6 separate regions of the Homo sapiens genome follow, and regions 1, 2, 4, 5 and 6 are each linked to region 3. Evidence: promoter capture Hi-C in 16 types of primary human blood cells and fetal thymus (Javierre and others, 2016). All regions are on one chromosome and are shown on one strand. The core of a region is centred on a gene start or on the middle of the fragment in contact, and the rest is flanking DNA. Distances in the headings are between cores, read along the strand shown. Region 1 has its middle 18 kb from the start of TCHHL1. Region 2 holds the start of TCHHL1 (trichohyalin like 1). Region 3 holds the start of HRNR (hornerin). Region 4 has its middle 42 kb from the start of CRNN. Region 5 has its middle 8.3 kb from the start of CRNN. Region 6 has its middle 10 kb from the start of CRNN.

What was found. Contacts are between HindIII fragments. The CHiCAGO score rates a contact against its expected background, and 5 or more counts as called.
Region 1: a fragment that was not itself captured here is called in contact with the fragment with the promoter of HRNR in region 3 in 1 of 17 cell types (total CD8 T cells); the score reaches 5.0 in total CD8 T cells.
Region 2: a fragment that was not itself captured here is called in contact with the fragment with the promoter of HRNR in region 3 in 6 of 17 cell types (total CD8 T cells, naive CD8 T cells, naive CD4 T cells and 3 more); the score reaches 7.0 in total CD8 T cells.
Region 4: a contact is called between a fragment that was not itself captured here and the fragment with the promoter of HRNR in region 3, in 15 of 17 cell types (total CD4 T cells, naive CD8 T cells, naive CD4 T cells and 12 more). The highest score is 12.1, in total CD4 T cells.
Region 5: a contact is called between a fragment that was not itself captured here and the fragment with the promoter of HRNR in region 3, in 2 of 17 cell types (total CD8 T cells and total CD4 T cells). The highest score is 6.0, in total CD8 T cells.
Region 6: a contact is called between a fragment that was not itself captured here and the fragment with the promoter of HRNR in region 3, in 4 of 17 cell types (naive CD8 T cells, total CD8 T cells, total CD4 T cells and 1 more). The highest score is 7.0, in naive CD8 T cells.

Annotation. Positions count from the first base shown.
Region 1 is chr1:152,069,993-152,072,867 of GRCh38, forward strand. No RefSeq gene overlaps it. Among named protein-coding and RNA genes, the nearest start is that of TCHHL1, 18 kb to the right of the region's middle. The HindIII fragment of the contact is 438 bases long and covers 1,356-1,793 here.
Region 2 is chr1:152,087,195-152,089,962 of GRCh38, forward strand. TCHHL1 (trichohyalin like 1) reads right to left here and starts at 1,870. Exons shown (of 3, transcript NM_001008536.2): 1 at 1,826-1,870; 2 at 812-969; 3 at 1-349. The coding sequence starts at 949. The HindIII fragment of the contact is 182 bases long and covers 1,231-1,412 here.
Region 3 is chr1:152,222,932-152,225,929 of GRCh38, forward strand. HRNR (hornerin) reads right to left here and starts at 1,262. Exons shown (of 3, transcript NM_001009931.3): 1 at 1,212-1,262; 2 at 185-347. The coding sequence starts at 322. All of the region lies in intron 1 of CCDST (cervical cancer associated DHX9 suppressive transcript), which reads left to right. The HindIII fragment of the contact is 14,241 bases long and covers 1-2,998 here.
Region 4 is chr1:152,454,858-152,457,557 of GRCh38, forward strand. No RefSeq gene overlaps it. Among named protein-coding and RNA genes, the nearest start is that of CRNN, 42 kb to the left of the region's middle. The HindIII fragment of the contact is 3,652 bases long and covers 1-2,700 here.
Region 5 is chr1:152,404,598-152,407,297 of GRCh38, forward strand. No RefSeq gene overlaps it. Among named protein-coding and RNA genes, the nearest start is that of CRNN, 8.3 kb to the right of the region's middle. The HindIII fragment of the contact is 1,564 bases long and covers 475-2,038 here.
Region 6 is chr1:152,422,859-152,425,824 of GRCh38, forward strand. No RefSeq gene overlaps it. Among named protein-coding and RNA genes, the nearest start is that of CRNN, 10 kb to the left of the region's middle. The HindIII fragment of the contact is 1,645 bases long and covers 546-2,190 here.

The DNA of each region.
Region 1 (2,875 bases), core at 325-2,824, 150 kb before region 3:
GGGGGATACTGGGGCCATAGGCTACTGCTATTTCCCAAAGCAAAACAAGCCTGGATCCTAAATCTTTTTTACATCTAATTTGGTTTGTTTGTTTTTAAGTCTCCCACATGACTTCTAAAATTGTATGTAATAAAGACACTTTGAGCTTTTCCTGATGTCTGTAATAAAAATATAAAATGTCTTCTCTTCAGTTTCTCTCCTGAACATCCCCATGGCCCTGGGGAGTTTATTTTTCTAGAATGTCTAAAGTGTATTATTTATTCAAAACAAAACAAAACAAAACAAAATAGTTTCTATGAGGAAATATTCTAGATACTTGACTCAATAATATTTCATTATTTTTGAATTTGTGTAGGAAACTCTTTCTTGCCCGTATTCAGACAGCCCAAGGCATGGGTGACTACTGAAGGAGGAGGAGGCAGGTCTTTCTCCCTGTGTGTCTAAAGGGCAGGAGCCTGATGAACTGGCTCCGTGTGGTCATTAGTTGCCGTTAGAGTGATTAATAAGAGTAACAGAGATAATTATAATTCTTGCTTTGAAAAGCCTTGCTTTTGAGAGGAATTATCCTTGTGCAAATGTCTCCCCACCCTCTTGGTAAATCGTCTTTGGCAGCCAGACCTGTAGCTTCTGGGTTTGCCTGTGGTCTCCGGGCTGCTGTTGCTGACACACCTGGTCTGCTGCCCGTCTCTCCTGAGTTTGGCTCATCTGATTCCTGGGCCTTCTTGCTTTTCTCCACTCTTTCTCATTTTCTGATGGTCTCTCTCTGTTCTCTTTTCCGTCTTCCTTTTGTCTTCCCCCCTTTCAACATTTCAATCTCTTTCTGTTTCTCATTGTCCCTTTCTTTGTGTGCCTTTTCTTACCTCTGTCTCTTCTACCTCTCTATTCCCACCCCATTTGTTTCAGACCTGAAGTCTCCATTCAGTTTGATCTTCCCTTTCGTTCTTTTACCTAAAAATTTATTAGTTTCTATCAGGGAAAATAAAAGACAAGTAGATTGAAAATGAATGCATCCAGTTCTTGCTATGAGAAGGGAAAGAGACGCTTACTGTGTGTCCACACCAGGCGATAGCCTGCCATAGTCACACAATGGGGAGGCCTGCTTGGTGCCAGGGCCCATGCTTACCACCCACACTGCCTGTACAAACAGGACATTTTCTGACCCAGAGTCCATGTGCAATGGTGACAGAATGACTTCTGTGGTGACACTCTTCTGATGACGTGGTCTTTGCCCCTCAGCGTCAAGGTTTGTCTTGACACTGCCTGGGAGGAGTTTCCTGGAAAGTGTCCACAGCCATGATTACAGATAAGAGGAGACTGCCAGAGTCATTTGAAGGCATCAAGTTGTCTGTAGGAGAAGCTTGGTGATTGGAGGAGTTGCTGCTGGGGTGGCTATCCTGAGTGCACATTTGGACTTTGCCTGCTCTGTGACCTCAGGCATCTTACCAAATCCCTCTGAGCCTCAGCAGTGGGATCTAGTGGTCACCATTTCTTGGATGTGTCATAAGGATACGGTGTGGCTCAGGGAAGCACTGGATTATAATGTGTTTTAAGCTCATTCTGAAGAAAAGCACCGTGCAAATCCCAGTTATTATGTTTATTATGAGGTTCAGCATGATTAAATGCAAAGAATTTGTTCCATCTGAATGAGGCTTTTAAAAATACACTGGGGCCAGTAATTACAGAAATGTAGGCTCCCCTAAACATGTTCCCAATTAGGAAGGGATGTAACTGAATGAACTGGGGCATGGCGGGGGACTCTCAGATCCTTGACATGTTCTTGGTCAGCTCAGTCAAGCTTTTCTTGATCAGAAAATGGAAAAAAGCAGAAAATTCTCATCCCTTGTGTCTTTCTTAGAAGAAGATAATAAACCCAGTGGCCAAAGAATGTTAACATTTAACTGATTTTCCTTATGTATCAGGACCTTTTTCTGAAACTATGATTGTTAAGGATTTTAAGTAAGACCCAAATCAGTATGGGGTATGATTTTCTTGTTTGTGATTAAAACATATGGAAGTAATTATAGATCTCAAAGTAATTTTTATTTATACACAAATAATACATACGTTCCTGATCCTTGAAAAAATTGAAACATTACTTGATGACATCTAAGACTTCTTTGACTACTACTGTCTCTCCTGATTCCCTTTTACTTTTCTCAGAGGCAATGACCATTATCAGTTTGGTGTTTTTCTTTCTGAGCTTTTCCGTCTTTAGAAGTAGAGAAAACCAAGGTGGACATGGTACGCAAGTCTCCACATGGTTTTCTTCTGTGGTTTAGCCTCATCTCCTGGGCCAGATCATATGCTTCTTGAGACCAGAAACCACATGAACTCCTTGATCTGATTCCACACCACTCCCAGGCCTGGAATAGAATCATGGAGAAGTGAGGGGAATGGTGAGGAACAGTTAACTAAACGCTTGTTTGAGAAAAATTATTGTCCTGCAGTTTACTCAAATAGAGCTAGTAACTCGGCTGGGCAAGTTTCAGATTCTGTGTTTCAAAACCACCTCAACCCACCCAGTGGAAACCAGAATATTCTCATGGCTTTACAAAAACGCCTGAGCTTTAAGCTTGATCTAAAGGGCTCAGCAAAGAAGCATTGCTCCTGAGAGGCTTCCTGTCTGCCTCAAGCTCCCTGTCTCAGCCTCCAGGTAGCCTCATCCTCATGCTCCACTTGCCCAGACATGGACCTCAAAGAAACTCCTGTCCACCTTCTTGGGGGTCCCTTCAGGGGTAGTTGTGTGTCATCAGCCACCCTCAGAGTTGGCTCTGAAACATTCCCCGGTTTCTCCTTCAGTGGTTTGTGGAGGTCAGGAAGAAATGCATGTGATATTTTCTGAAGGTTCTGGACAATCCTAATGTTGTCATGAAGC
Region 2 (2,768 bases), core at 72-2,571, 140 kb before region 3:
CTTCTCTCCATGGGTCCACTCTGTTATTTCCAACTGCTCCACTTTCTTCAGGGATGAGCTGAGATGATGATGCCATTCCTGAAGGAAGCATCCTCTTTTCTTGAGTTGGTGAAGTTCCCACTGTCCACTGACCATCTCCGGTGGTTGCCTGAACATCCACATCATCTAGCTTCTCCTTCTCTGGTTTAGTCACCTGTCTTAGTTCAGAACTTAGTAATGATTTTATGTCAAGATAACAGAGGTTCAACAAGTTGAAGATTGCAAGAACAAATTCATCAAAACTGATGATGCCATTACTGTCAATATTCAGAAGATTTGAATTTTTTTCCACAGCATGAAGGACACAGGGCTGCATGAAAACACAGTGAGAAATCAGCTTATTTATATGTGGTCCAGTGTCCTAAGTGTCTCCCAAGAATCCTATTTTTCTGACCTCATTCCTCAGTAACTGGTTAACTTTCCCAGAACAGCAAGAACTTATTGGTTCTGCAAGCCATTTTTCATCAGAGAGCTATGCCTGAGAAAGAGCATTTACAACACTTGTGAGTTGCATTTTGATGCATAATGGTTTATGACTCCTTTCAGAAGTCAGCTTTGCAGAAGCAATAATCCCAGTGACGAAAACCTCTTTTTCTCTAAGTAATTGCACAGAGTATGGAACTGAGACTGAAAATAGTTGTTCAAGAGACAGTGAGTGCTGAGAACTGTTAGCTAGGTGTAAAATGGATGGGGATCACATATGCTCATCTTGCTTGGATTATAAAGAAAGGGTGAGTTGGAAAGAATTTACACAGCTCTGTGAGAAGCTCACCTGAAAAAAGTCCCCAAACTCGCCCTGGATGAGTTGTTTCAGCTCTCTGCCAGTCAGTGTTGCCCCGTTACTGTCCTCACTGGCATATTTGTGGAATGTCTCAATTACACAGAGGACATTTCTCAGGAGCTGAGGCATCTTTACAAACTCAGGAGAGGCTGTGAGAAAGAATAAACAAAGCTCATTTTCCAGGATGGGTCCTTCAGGGAGGAGATACCAAGATTATCCTTTTTGTTCCTCCCCCATCTCCACTGCAACCCCTGCTCTATTCTGTATCTTAAAATATTATATCTGAACTCCAGGGGTGATTTAGTATTGTACCAGACATTGTGGTGAAATCAGACCCAGCATAGGTAAGTATTAGAAGAGACAATTCACCCCACTCTTCAGTAAACAGCAACATTCATGTGCTCAGAGAAAGCTTCATTGCAAAAGGAAGGTGATAAGAGAACTCAAGCATAAGGATTGAAATGCATAAATGAAGCCAATAGAGTTGGACCCATTCTTCCAGCCTCATCCAAGAGTGTCTATCTGCTCTCCTCTCCCTTTGGCTCAGTCTAGCCTCCTGCGGTTAGGAGGGTATAACCTTTAAAGTTAGCAAAGCTTCTAGTGGAAAGATAAGTCACACCAAGAAAATTAACCCCTATGTTTGCAGGTGGTAACAACATGCTTTAACCAAGAAGACATGATTCCATGTCCCGACCCCTTATTCATTCATTTCCCATCCTTTAAATGCTTCTACATTTTCATTGCAATAGAGATCTGATCCTGTGCCTTGTTGAATAATATTCATGCCTATGACTTCTAAACAATTTATGTTTTTTTTAAAAAGAAAATGATCAAAGAAGTTCCATAATCAAGGAATGCATTTGGGTGGTTGGCGCTCCCAGTTTATTATTATTAATAGGGGTTGACATAGACTTAAAGTGTGTTTCCTTTGAAATCCTCTTGCAATCTCACATATAAGCAAAACAGCAACTGAAATCCCAAGTATGCTCAAGCAGATGGACTTACCTAGTTCACAAGCGAGAGCAGGTAGAACGTGGGGCAGCGGGCTGTGAGCTGACAGCAGGAGCTGGAACCTTTTATTGAGGTCCTAATTGCACAGTTAAGAAGGAGACACCCTCTGGGTCTAATGACCTGACATCACCACCAAATCCAGTCTCCCCTGCTCTGTTGTCAGTTGTCTTAATTTTATTTCCTTCTTTAGGCAGTTTCAATTAAATCTTAGCTTCAGATGCATCAAAAGAAAGGGGAGGGGGTTTCTTGATTCATTTACTGACTTTTGCAGATTATAGTTTTGAAGGCTCTTCAAGGTAGTGTTGGCTTCCCTCCCCCATTTTTTAACCTAAGGACATAATTACATTTCTGTCTGACAAATCATAGTGCTGGCAGGGACCTCATAAGTCATCTGATTCCTCTGTCTGCCCACAAGATGGCCCGTATTTGACCCAAACCTGAGAGATGGGTGTCAATCATGTGTTTAAAAATAAAGGCCCCCATTTAGCCATGTGACAAAAGTGGAGATACCAGTTGATTCAGATGTTTCAATGCTTTGCTCTCCTTGCCCAGAGGCAGAGTTAGAAAAAAAAAAAAATTCTTGCTTGGTGTGCAAAGCCTTGCTTACCTATGTTGTGCTATTTTAAAAACGTGATTGATATTTGCTTTCTAAAGACATTTTTACTATACAAGGAGCTTGAAACCAATAATCTATATTACTGTGTTCTCCCTGTAAAGGGGAAAGGGAGATGTTGAAATCATCAAGCTGAGAACAGAAGTGAGTCTGAGATGCTGAACTGGCAAACATTTTAATTGTCTCCTAGATCTGGGTCCTTCTTAGTAGAGAATATTTAATAAAATAAGAATTAGATTCAATGGTTTTCTTAGATATTTTTAAAAAATAGAGTATGTTTTAAAACACTCCTTGTCAAAGGATGGAAGAAATAGACAGATCAAT
Region 3 (2,998 bases), core at 12-2,511:
GTTAGTTATGCTATGGAAACCATCACGGATCTGCTTTTGACCTTATCTCAAACTTTTACCAAACCCTGTTCTCTCTCACCAAGTAAGGACAATCCTCTAGGATGTTTGACATATGTGACAAGAAGGTGGAAAGGGATAAAGAAGAAAATTCCTGCATAACTCCATCCTGGCGTGGAGTTCTTACCTTCAGAATTTGATGAAACTCATTTTCCAGAAGTTCTTTCAGCTCTGCCTTGTTCAACGTATCATACTCCCCATGCTGGGTGGCATATTGGTAGAAAACATCGATGACAGTGATGACGCCTTGTAGGAGTTTAGGCATTTTTTTTTTTGCAAGTTTGAGTAACCTAAAGGGAGGAAAAAGAGAGACCAACCCCTTACTATTCTTATTTCTTGTTTAAACACATAAATAGTTCTAATTATTTATAATAATTGTTCAGAATTAGTCAGTCATGATTAAATTCATTCTGTTGTAATCAAGAACCAATTCAGAGTTGAATGACTTGTTCAAGCCATGTAGCAAGAGAGTGATGAAATTAGGAATATAATCCATAGGTCTTATTTCCATTCCTGAATGAATGTAGGAAAAATGACTTTCTGTTTTTGGCTTCCTGCCATTACCAGGGATAATATTAGCTTTGTTCTGGAGCTGTAGAAGTCCTGAGTGTTCCACTTCATCTGCTTCCTCTTTCTAGGTTCGAAGCATACTGTGGGCATAGGTCCATCATCTACATGACATGCCTTACTCAACCTAAGGAGCATCAATGGCTGAACTGAACTCTCAAGACTTCTAGGTCAGAGAAAATAGACAATGTGAGCAAAGCCAACAAGCCTAGGTGATATGAAGCTAAGGGTAACTGCTATTAGATCCAGCTTCTGTTCTCATTCTCCAAGCAGGAAGTGACCCTCAGACCTTATTACACAATAGAGAGGAAAAGCTCAGTTGTAAAGAAGGCAACCTGCCTGTGGATAATTAGAACCCCATGATATCCATGTTATAAGGGAAGCGACCTCAAAGAAAGGAGATAATATACATAGTCCTAGTCTTTGTTTCATTTTTCTTTTCAGTAAATTTAAACTTATACCAAAGTTCCCCAGAGTATACTAAAAAGAAGCCTTGTATCTAGTGCCTCTTTGCCTTAGAGCACATCCTGGACTTTCATAATTTATAGCCCTAAGTACCCTTGAGCGGAGTTGAACTGCTCACTTACCTAGCTCACCAGAGGAACAAGTAGGGTAGAGACAGAAACAGCTTTCAGGGTGCTGCGAGTTGGGCAGAGTGGCCTTTTTATAGAGGGAATAATGGTCCCTCTTAGGGAGGAGTTGCTAATTTTGAGATGTCCTAATTTACTCCTAAACAAGCCCATCTCCACCTCTATCTCCACCTCCCAGGTGTTTACCTTCTTCCTGACTTCCTTACAGGTTCACCTAAGATTGCATTAGCAGTTCCCAAATCTGGGCTACTCTCAGCCCCACCTGCCAAAGGGTCAGGACACTGCAGAAAGGCCTGTTTTTGTATTCATCAAACTATCTAGCACAATATATTGACAACAAATTGTGTGGATTTTAATAGAAGTTGAATGGAGTGTGTGCAGGGACATCATGGCCCAAATGTCAAAAAATCATGGAAATTGATGATTAAAAGGACTGTAAAGATCATCTAGTCAAACTCTCCCATTCTAAGCTAAATGTTCTTAAATGGTATTCCAGCCAAAGTGTCATCTTTGGTATTGTTATTACCTTTTGAATTGGATAATGGCTCCAGGCCATCCTTTAACTCATTAAGTACCTCAATTTACCAGACCCCTTATTGGCCATTCATCACCATAGCTTTCATTTCAAACACCATATAACCTTAGGAAGAAATGCGTGCTTGTTAGCATGGTATCCATGGTTCCTCATGATCTGGGCTGTGGCTTTTTTCCAGCTCCATTTCTCCCCTCCATATTTCTCTTTGTACTCCAACAGTAATTAACTAGTAATATTTCAAACTTCCTCAATATACCATGGGATATGTTATTTCATATTTTTTCTTAGAATGTCTTTCCTCATTGTCTGCCTAGTGAACTAATTATTCTTCAAAATCCAATTTAGGCTTCCCATAGAAAATCTTTCCTGAATTACTCAAGAGGGAGTTGTAATTGTGTACCTTATTCATATTTATTGTTGTATCAATCATACTATATTGTAATCTTTAAAAATTGTTTTACTATACAATTATTGTTTAATATAAAAATTAGAAAATATTGATAAGCAAATAAGATAAAATCAAAATACCTTTAAAGCCACTAGCCAAAAATAACTACTGTTAGTTATTTGTTGTATATCCTTGCCTTTCACAAACACACACATTCACACACAGACACACACATTTGTCTATGGGCTTATTTCATTTCTAGGCTATGAGCTCCTTGAGAATAAGGAATGGACATTATTTATCCTTATGTCATTTGGAGACCTAGTATACTGCTTGTCACATAACGGTCTCCAATAAATGTCAGTTTGAATTCATTTGAAAGAGAAGCAAGGATCAAGACTATAGTCCTCTGCATTGGCCAACTTCCATCTTTTCACAGGAGGACTAGGGTCTGCCCTCTCTCTTGCCATCTTTGCCTCAGAGGACATGATTTTACCTGAATATAAACGGAATCTTAGCATTGAGAATCAATGAGTGGCTTTCTGCTTTTTTCTGAGGCCCTCGCTCTGCATTTCTTCCATTGTGAACATATAACACAAATTTCACTGAAGGTGTGTGAAGTTACATGGACTTAAAACTTGTGCAATATGGTCATCAGGATTTGAGAAGGTGTGGTAGCAACTGTTGGCAAGTGATAAATTACATGATTCCAAATTCAACTATTGTTAGGCTATGTGTTTTCTTTTAAGAATTGCCCAGAGGGCTGCAGAGTCAGTATCCATTCTGTAGCCGTGTTTCCTCTGGACATCTGATTGGGCCAGGTTTTCATGCTTCATCAGAACAATGACTTTTTAAAGGTGT
Region 4 (2,700 bases), core at 168-2,667, 230 kb after region 3:
GAGTACTCTACCCAGTATCCAATAAATTATGATGTTTTCTACTCTAGCTGTTAGGAACAGGGGTTCTTCCTAACTCGGGGTGATCCTGGGATTATTCGCTTTCATTCCTGCAGGGAGGTCCATCCTCTGCCTCAGGTAGTTTCCTCACATACAGGTGCTGATCATAACTCAGCTAAGGATCTGAGGGGAGGCTGTTCCTGATTGTCAGGGCTCCCCTGCCCCCTTCTCTCTCTAGCTCTTGCCTTGCTAGGTGAAGGGGTGGCCTGCCCCTCCACACCTGTGGGTGTTTCTCGTCTGGTGGGACGAGAGACTGAGAAAAGAAAGAGACACAGAGACAAAGCATAGAGAAAGAAAAGTGGGCCCAGGGGACCGGGCGCTCAGTATACGGAGGACCCGCGCCGGCACTGGTCTCTGAGTTCCCTCAGTATTTATTGATCATTATCTCTACCATCTCAGAGAGGGGGATGTGGCAGGACAATAGGGTAATAGTGGGGAGAAGGTCAGCAGGAAAACATGTGACAAATGTCTCTGTGTCATAAACAAGGTTAAGAAAAAGGTGCTGTGCTTTGATGTGCCAATACATAAACATCTTGGTGCATTAAAGAGCAGTATTGCCACCAGCATGTCTCACCTCCAGCCATAAGGTGGTTTTCTCCTGTCTCAGTAGATGGAACATACAATTGGGTTTTACACCGAGACATTCCATTGCCCAGGGATGAGCAGGAGACAGATGCCTTCCTCAGAGTTATCTCAACTGCAAAGAGGCCTTCCTCTTTTACTAATCCTCCTCAGCACAGACCCTTTACGGGTGTTGGGCTGGGGGATGGTTAGGTCTTTCCCCTCCCATGAGGCCATATCCCAGGCTATCACTTGGGGAGAAACCTTGGACAATATGTGGCTTTCCTAGGCAGAGGTCCCTGCGGCCTTCCGCAGTGTATTGTGTCCCTGGGTACTTGAGATTAGAGAGTAGTGATGACTTTTAACAAGCATACTGCCTTCAAGCACTTGTTTAACAAAGCACATCCTGCATAGCCCTAAATCCATTAAACCTTGAGTTAACACATCACAGGTCTCTGCAAGCACAGGGTTGGGGCTAGGGTTACAGATTAACAGCATCTCAAGGCAGAAGAATTTTTCTTAGTACACAACAAAATGGAGTCTCTTATGTCTACTTCTTTCTACATAGACACAGTAACAGTCTGATCTCTCTTTCTTTTCCCCACAGCTAGGCTAGTAGTCTGTCTTGAAAACTCTAGCTGCCTTGGTCTTTTAGGATCCAGTTCCATTTATTCAATCCTGAGAGTCCACTGGACTCTGCCAGTTTCCGCTCCCTGAGTCACAGCCTGGAAACCCTTTGCCGGGAGGAGGCCAGGACAGTCCTAGGGTTCAGCTCATTTTGTTTCATCTTGCAAACATCATGGTCCTGCATTGCTTCAGGTTCATGGTCTTGAAAACTATTGTTCTTTTTATATAGCCATTCCTTGGTATTCACGAGGGATTTGTTCCAAGACCCTTGAAGATGCCAAAATCTGGAGATGCTCAAATCCCTCACGTAAAATGGCAAGATATTTGCATATAACCTATGCACATCCTCCTGTAGACATGAAAACATCTCTAGATTACTTATAATACCTAATATAATGTAAATGCTATGTAAATGGTTGTTATACTGTATTTTTAAATTGTATTTTTATTGTATTTTTTCAAATGTTTTTGATCCATGGTTGGTTGAATCCATGGATGTAGAAGTCAAGTATAAGGAAGGCCAACTATAGCTTGTCAGATTATGTAGTTGTTTCAGGTTACAGGATAAATCCATCCCTGTAACTCCATTCCCATTGGAAGAGGAAATTTCCACTTTATATTTTTGCTAGCATAATACCATTTTTTCTGGTATTTTTCAAAATCACAACCTAACATTGTAATTCTAAAGTATTTAGAGTTATACATCTGTTTAAAATTTCAAATTGGATGAACATGCAATCTCCCCACTAAGACAGGCATTTGCCTTTGTCTGGGTGAGGCTGACCATTGTCTTTTGTGTTTAGCAGTTCCTTATAATCCCTCCATAACCAGCCTGGGTCTCTCTCCACTTCCAGAAGCCTTGACAGACTGTTTTAGAACTGGAGAGATGAGGAGTGGGGGTGAGATGCTAAGAACACACAGGAGAGGGTATGGCAGGAAGGAGGACAAAAGGGCAGGAGTTCCTAGGGCCAAGTCCCACCACTCTTCACCCCCAGCCTGACCACCTCCCTCCCCTCCGGGGCACACATCTCTCTGCTCCTCTTTACAGAGCCTCTTTATTTAACATGTCATGTGGTTCTGGTATCACAGTCACTACTCTTGTTGTGTGGAAGGGCAGAATCTCAGGGGCCCAGGACAGAATAGAAGACTGTTGGTGAGGCAGGACTTAGTCCCTTAGGGAGTTACCAGGCCAGCCCTGCCCCATGCTGTGGCAATCACAGGAGTGTGTGATACAGAGTGCTTGGAGAATAGGACCAGACCACACTTGACAAAATGGTGCCTATGGGGGTGCAACAATAACATGGCATTTTAGGAAGAGGTGGACAGGACAATGAGTTGCTTTGGGGGCTTTGGTCTTGTACACCATGCCTAGGTTCTGAGAGGGCAACTGTACCTTGCAGAATGACTGCCATCTGCCAGGCACAGTGCTAGGCTTTTTACAACCATTACGCCAGT
Region 5 (2,700 bases), core at 7-2,506, 180 kb after region 3:
GACCTGACACTGAGTTGAGAGTCCGAGGACCTGGGTTTAGTCCTATTTCTGCCTCTTTCTTTCTAACTGCATAACTTTTGACAACACTAAAGAAACTCCATTTTCTTATTTGCTATGAGCTTGATTATGTCTATGTTTCCACAGTCACATGTCTGTGTAGGGATTATGTTAATTTATGTATGTGACAGGAAAGATTAGGATATTCAATTCCTTTAACAAATAATTATTGAATGCTAGGCACTACTTCAGACACCAAAGCAACAGCAGGAACAAAACAGGCACATGTAGTATTGCTGAACTGTACCAAATTCCTCTCCACTGAGGCTCATTTTGCATTCCCACCAGAAGGTGTGAAAATGCCTGCTTTACCTCATCATCATCTATTCTCAAACTTGTAGATTTTTGTCAAGCTGATAGTGAGAATGGTATCTCAAACTAGTATAGTTTTGGTTTATGCTTCTAGTATTACAAACAAGCTTTAGCATCTTTTCATATATTTAAGCATCATTTGTATTTTTTGTGAGCTATCTGTTTGTATCTTTTGCCCATTCTTATTTCTTATTTTGTGTGTTTGTGCCTTCTTACCCCACCTTTTTCACTCTTTTCAAAATTAGGTTGGTTTTTCTACTTGTTGATTCCAAAAAAAAAAAAAAAGAGGATTATCTATTCATTTACTTACTTATTTAGTTGTTGACTGTTTTGTGAACTTATACTTTTATTAATTTTTATGGGGAATTCATGTAGCTGTGTTCTACAGATCCTTATATGTCTAGTTTAATTATCATTTTCTAAAAATTCTGCAATTTCATTTTATTTTCAGTTCCTTTTATTCAACAGTTTTAAAATAATATGTGTGTGTGTGTTTATATATATGTTTTTAATTTCCAACAACAACACAGATTTGGTAAAATCCATCACTATTACATGTTCTTTTAAGAATGCTATTTGTGGCCAGGGGCAATGGTTCATGCCTTTAGTCTCAGCACTTTGGGAGGCTCAGGAGGGCGGATCACTTGAGCTCAGGAGTTTGAGACCAGCCTGGGAAACATGGCAAAACTCCCTCTCCACAAAAAATACAAAAATTAGCCAGGTGTGGTGGCAAGGGCCTGTAATCCCAGCTACTCGGGAGGCTGAGGCAGGAGAATTGCTTGAACCTGGGAGCTGGAGGCAGCAGTGAGCTGAGATCATACCACTGCACTCCAGCCTGGGTGACAGAGTGAGACCCTGTCTCAAAAAGAAAAGAAAGAGAGAGAGAGAGAGAGAGAAAAAGAGAGAGTGAGAGAAAGAGAGAGAGAGCGAGAGAGACACAAGCAAGCAAGCAAGAAAGAAAGAAAGAAAGAAAGGAAGAAAAGAAGGAAAAGAAAAAGAAAGAAAGAAATAATTCTATTATTATTATTATTATTATTGAGACAGGGTCTCCATCTGTCACCTAGGCTGGAATGCAGTAGCACAATCTCAGCTCACTGCAACCTCTGCCTCCTGGGCTCAAGCGATTCTCTTTCCTTAGCCTCCTGAGTATCTGGGACTATAGGCATGTGCCATCATGCCCAACTAATTTTTGTATTTTTCTTTTTGTTGAAATGGTATCTCATTATGTTGCCCAGGCTGGTCTTGAACTCCTGAGCTCAAGCAATCTGCCCGCCTCAGCCTCCCAAAGTGCTGGGATTACAGGCATGAGCCACCACACCTGGGCCTATTTCTATTTTTGAATAATGCATTGAAGTTTTCTTTGTGACCTGATATTGAATATTTCATGTGTAGACGGTATAGTTTTTTCTTGTTAGGTTAATACATTGCTGGACTATATGTCTGTAGAGTTCTTTATATCTTATTGAATGTACTGTTTCTTCTCTACACTTACTGTCTTGAGCTGAGAGAGATGATTAAAGTGCCCTATTATTACTATGTTATTTTCTTTAAGTTTTTCCTTGTATCTCTTATAGTTTCTGTGTCATCAGAGTTGTGCTACATTATTGAATGCATAGATATTAAAAACCATTATATCTTCATTGTGAAATTATAGCATTTGGCATTTTAAAGCTTCCTTCTTAGTCTTATTTAATGCCTTTTGATCTAATCTGGGATCAAGATCATGACTCCTGATTTCTAAATTTTGTTTTAACCTGCATTTTCCTGATATATATTAACTCAACCACCCTGTTTACAAATTGTTTTCTGACTCTCTTTGATTTGCACACCTCTTGTAAGGAGCATAGACTTGTATAGAGCTAATATGCAACTTGTTCATCTAGTAGTGAGTTAAGCTCTTGACATTATTGTTATAAATATGTTTGACCTCAGTCTATCACGCTCTTTTATGTCCTATTTATGAAAATATGTATCTTTTACATAAATAACATCATCCACTCTGTTATCTGTGTTATTTGCTTTTTTCTAGAATGTCTTTTGGTGTTGAGGAAGGTTTGTATTTGTGTTGTTATCTTATAGTACATCTTTATGTAATATGTATTCTGTATTCCCCCTTCCCTTTAATAAATGGCATATTCACTCTCCACTCTAAGTAATGATGGAATTTTCTGGAAATTTTCACCTTACCCTCCTTCTTCCTTTCTCAGTATCTAATGTGAAGTGATATCCTTTCACTCCCAGTTTTTCCTTGTAAGCATATGCTTATATTAAGACAATCAGGGAGCTCATTCTACTTTCTGTATGCTTTCTCTTTCTCCCTTCATTTTTTTG
Region 6 (2,966 bases), core at 118-2,617, 200 kb after region 3:
TCACCTTTTAATCTTGGATACCAAAACTCCCTGGAAGGGATGGGTGCTTTGATTAATGGAGAAAGAACTAGGTAAAAACTGACCAACCCCAGTGGAGACCTGTGCCAACAAAGTAGCTTTATGCAGATTACCTACAATACCGTCACAGGCCTTGATATAATCAACTAAATGTGCTTTCCCTCTAATAAGTTGCAGAGCAGCCTGGCAATCAGGATTAGCATTGTTGAACGCTAATAACCATAACACTATATCCAGAGCAGCCGAATCTGCAATCACCTTTTTAAGAGACTCCTGTAACTGAGCTATAAAATCCACACATGGCGTTATTTTGGTCCCTGTTTTACAGCACTAAAGGAAGGGTATTTTTCTCCACCAGAAGTTATTTTTTCCCAAGCTCTAATGCACACTCCTCTAAGCTGTTCTATGGCATCATCCTGCATGACCACTTGTGCATCTAAACCAGCCCAGCCACCAACCCCCAAAAGTTGGTCTGCAGTTATATTAATTTGAGGTTGGGCCTGGGTGTTGTGAGCAGCCTGAATGGAAGCTTCATCTGCCCACCAAGTTTTAAATTGTAAGAACTGAGCAGGAGTTAGATAAGCTCGAGTAAGAGTGTCCAAGTCAGTAGGAATCATCTGACTAGAAACAGCAACATTCTTTAAAAGTCCCATTACAAAAGGAGAACCTGGTGCATATTGAATAATAACTTGTTTAAATTCTTTGAGTAATTTAAAAGGAAAAGGTTCAAATGTAGCAGGAGCATGTCCTTAAGGTACAGATCTGGGGGGTGTATTCTAACAGGGAATTGTCAAGCCTCTAAATCACCTTCTCGTCTAGCTTGCTGAATTCCTGCCTGAATAGAACTGAGAACGGTTGCTCGAGGCGCTGCTCGAACAGTCACTGGGGCAACTACTTTTTGCCTAGTGTCCTCCAGAAAAGAAAGATCTGGAGGGTCAGGCCACTCTTTTTCTTCAAAATAATAATGAGGGGGCGCAAAAGGGTAGGGCTGAACCTCTCTCTCCTTTGCTGCTTTAGCTTTAGCTGGCAAACAAACCTGCTCTGTAACCTCTTCTGTTACTTCGTTATACTCTCCTTCCTCCTCATCTTTAGTGTGAAAAGGTTCCAAGGTGGAACAACCCAGAGCCCACACTTATCCCATGGTTACCCTGATGCTTCCTAGCTCCCCTTCTTACTCACCACGGGGATTGCTTTAAGAGTACTTGGGTGTCCTCCAGCTTAGTTCCACGTTTTCCAACTGTCACTCCGGCGACCCTTCAACCTGGGTTTGAGGCCCCATGTTGGGCTCCACTTGCTGAGACCAGCTCAGTCAGGGAGACCCTAACCCAGTGGCACTAGAGGAATTAAAGACACACACACACAGAAATATAGAGTTGTGAAGTGGGAAATCAGGGGTCTCACAGCCTTCAGAGCTGAGAGCCTTGAACAGAGATTTACCCACGTATTTATTAACAGCAAGCCAGGCCAGTGATAAGCATTGTTTCTATAGATTATAGATTAACTAAAGGTATTCCTTATGGGAAATAAAGGGATGGGCCAAAATAAAGGGATGGGTCTGGCTAGTTATCTGCAGCAGGAGCATATCCTTAAGGCATGGATGGCTCATGCTATTGTTTGTGGTTTAAGAATGCCTTTAAGCAGTTTTCCACCCTGGGTGGGCCAGGTATTCCTTGCCCTCATTCCAGTAAACCCACAACCTTCCAGCATGGGTGTCATGGACATCATGAACATGTCACAGTGCTGCAGAGATTTTGTTTATGGCCAGTTTTGGGGCCAGTTTATGGCCATATTTTGGGGGCCTATTCCCAACAGTGGCTTCTCTGGGTGCCCAGTCTTTCCATGTGAGTGCTAAGAACCTGATTTCTATCCCCTTTCCTGAATTGAAGTCTTCAGGTGCTTGGTAGCCTTATTGTACAGGTTCCACAAATCCATGTGCCTGCCAACCATTGCTGCATATGGAATACATATCTGACACTATGTGTGTACTATTACTTTTCAGACATAGGCTTGTGAAGTGGCAGCAGTGGCCAAGACACAAGTCACTTTTCTCCAGGGTGGGCTTGACAACTAGGTCTGAGACACTGACTACCAAAAGGAGCTGGTTGCAAGCAAGGCCTGGAAGTCTGGATGGTGACAGTGCCTGGCTCACAGAGGCCAAGATCCATCAGCTAAAGCTTCACTCCAGGCTTAGCAAAATTCAGGTGAAATGGATGTCCTGACAAGGAGCATTAGGGGACACTGCAGAGGAGGTGCTGAGGAGTCCAACAAGGTCTGGATGAGACTGTTAGTCCTACACAGTCAGTTCATTTACTGATGAAGAGATGGAGGCTTGGCTTGAGGCTCAGCAGCTGTGGATGGTGCAAAGATTATGTGCCAGGCTGGGCATGGTGGCTCACACCTGTAATCCCAGCACTTTGGGAGGCCGAGGCAGGCAGATCACCTGAGGTCAGGAGTTCAAGACCAGCCTGGCCAACATGGTAAAACCCCATCTCTACTTATAAAATACAAAAAAATTAGCCGAGCGAGGTGGCAGATGCCTGTAATCTCAGCTACTTGGTAGGCTGAAGCAGGAGAATCAGCTGAACCCGGGAGGCAGAGGTTGCAATGAGCAGAGACTGTGCCATTGCACAAGAGTGAAACTCCGTCTCAAAAAAAAAAAAAAAAGACTGCGTGCCCACCATGGTGCTGAGGTGACTCCCGCACATGACACCTTTACTTCTCATACCCTGAAAAGTTCTTCTTCTTCTTCCCATATTTCACAGGCGGAACTTGAGTTTCAAAGAGGTGAAATGACATGTCCAAAGTCACACTGACAACTGTGCAGGGAGATAATGAGGTAAGAGGCAGGCAGGACTTGTCTCTGGACCAGACTGGAGACTGGCTAAAACAGAGAAGAGACACTGAGCATCTCCCATTGCTCTTGCTGCCCATCACCATGAGACACTCCC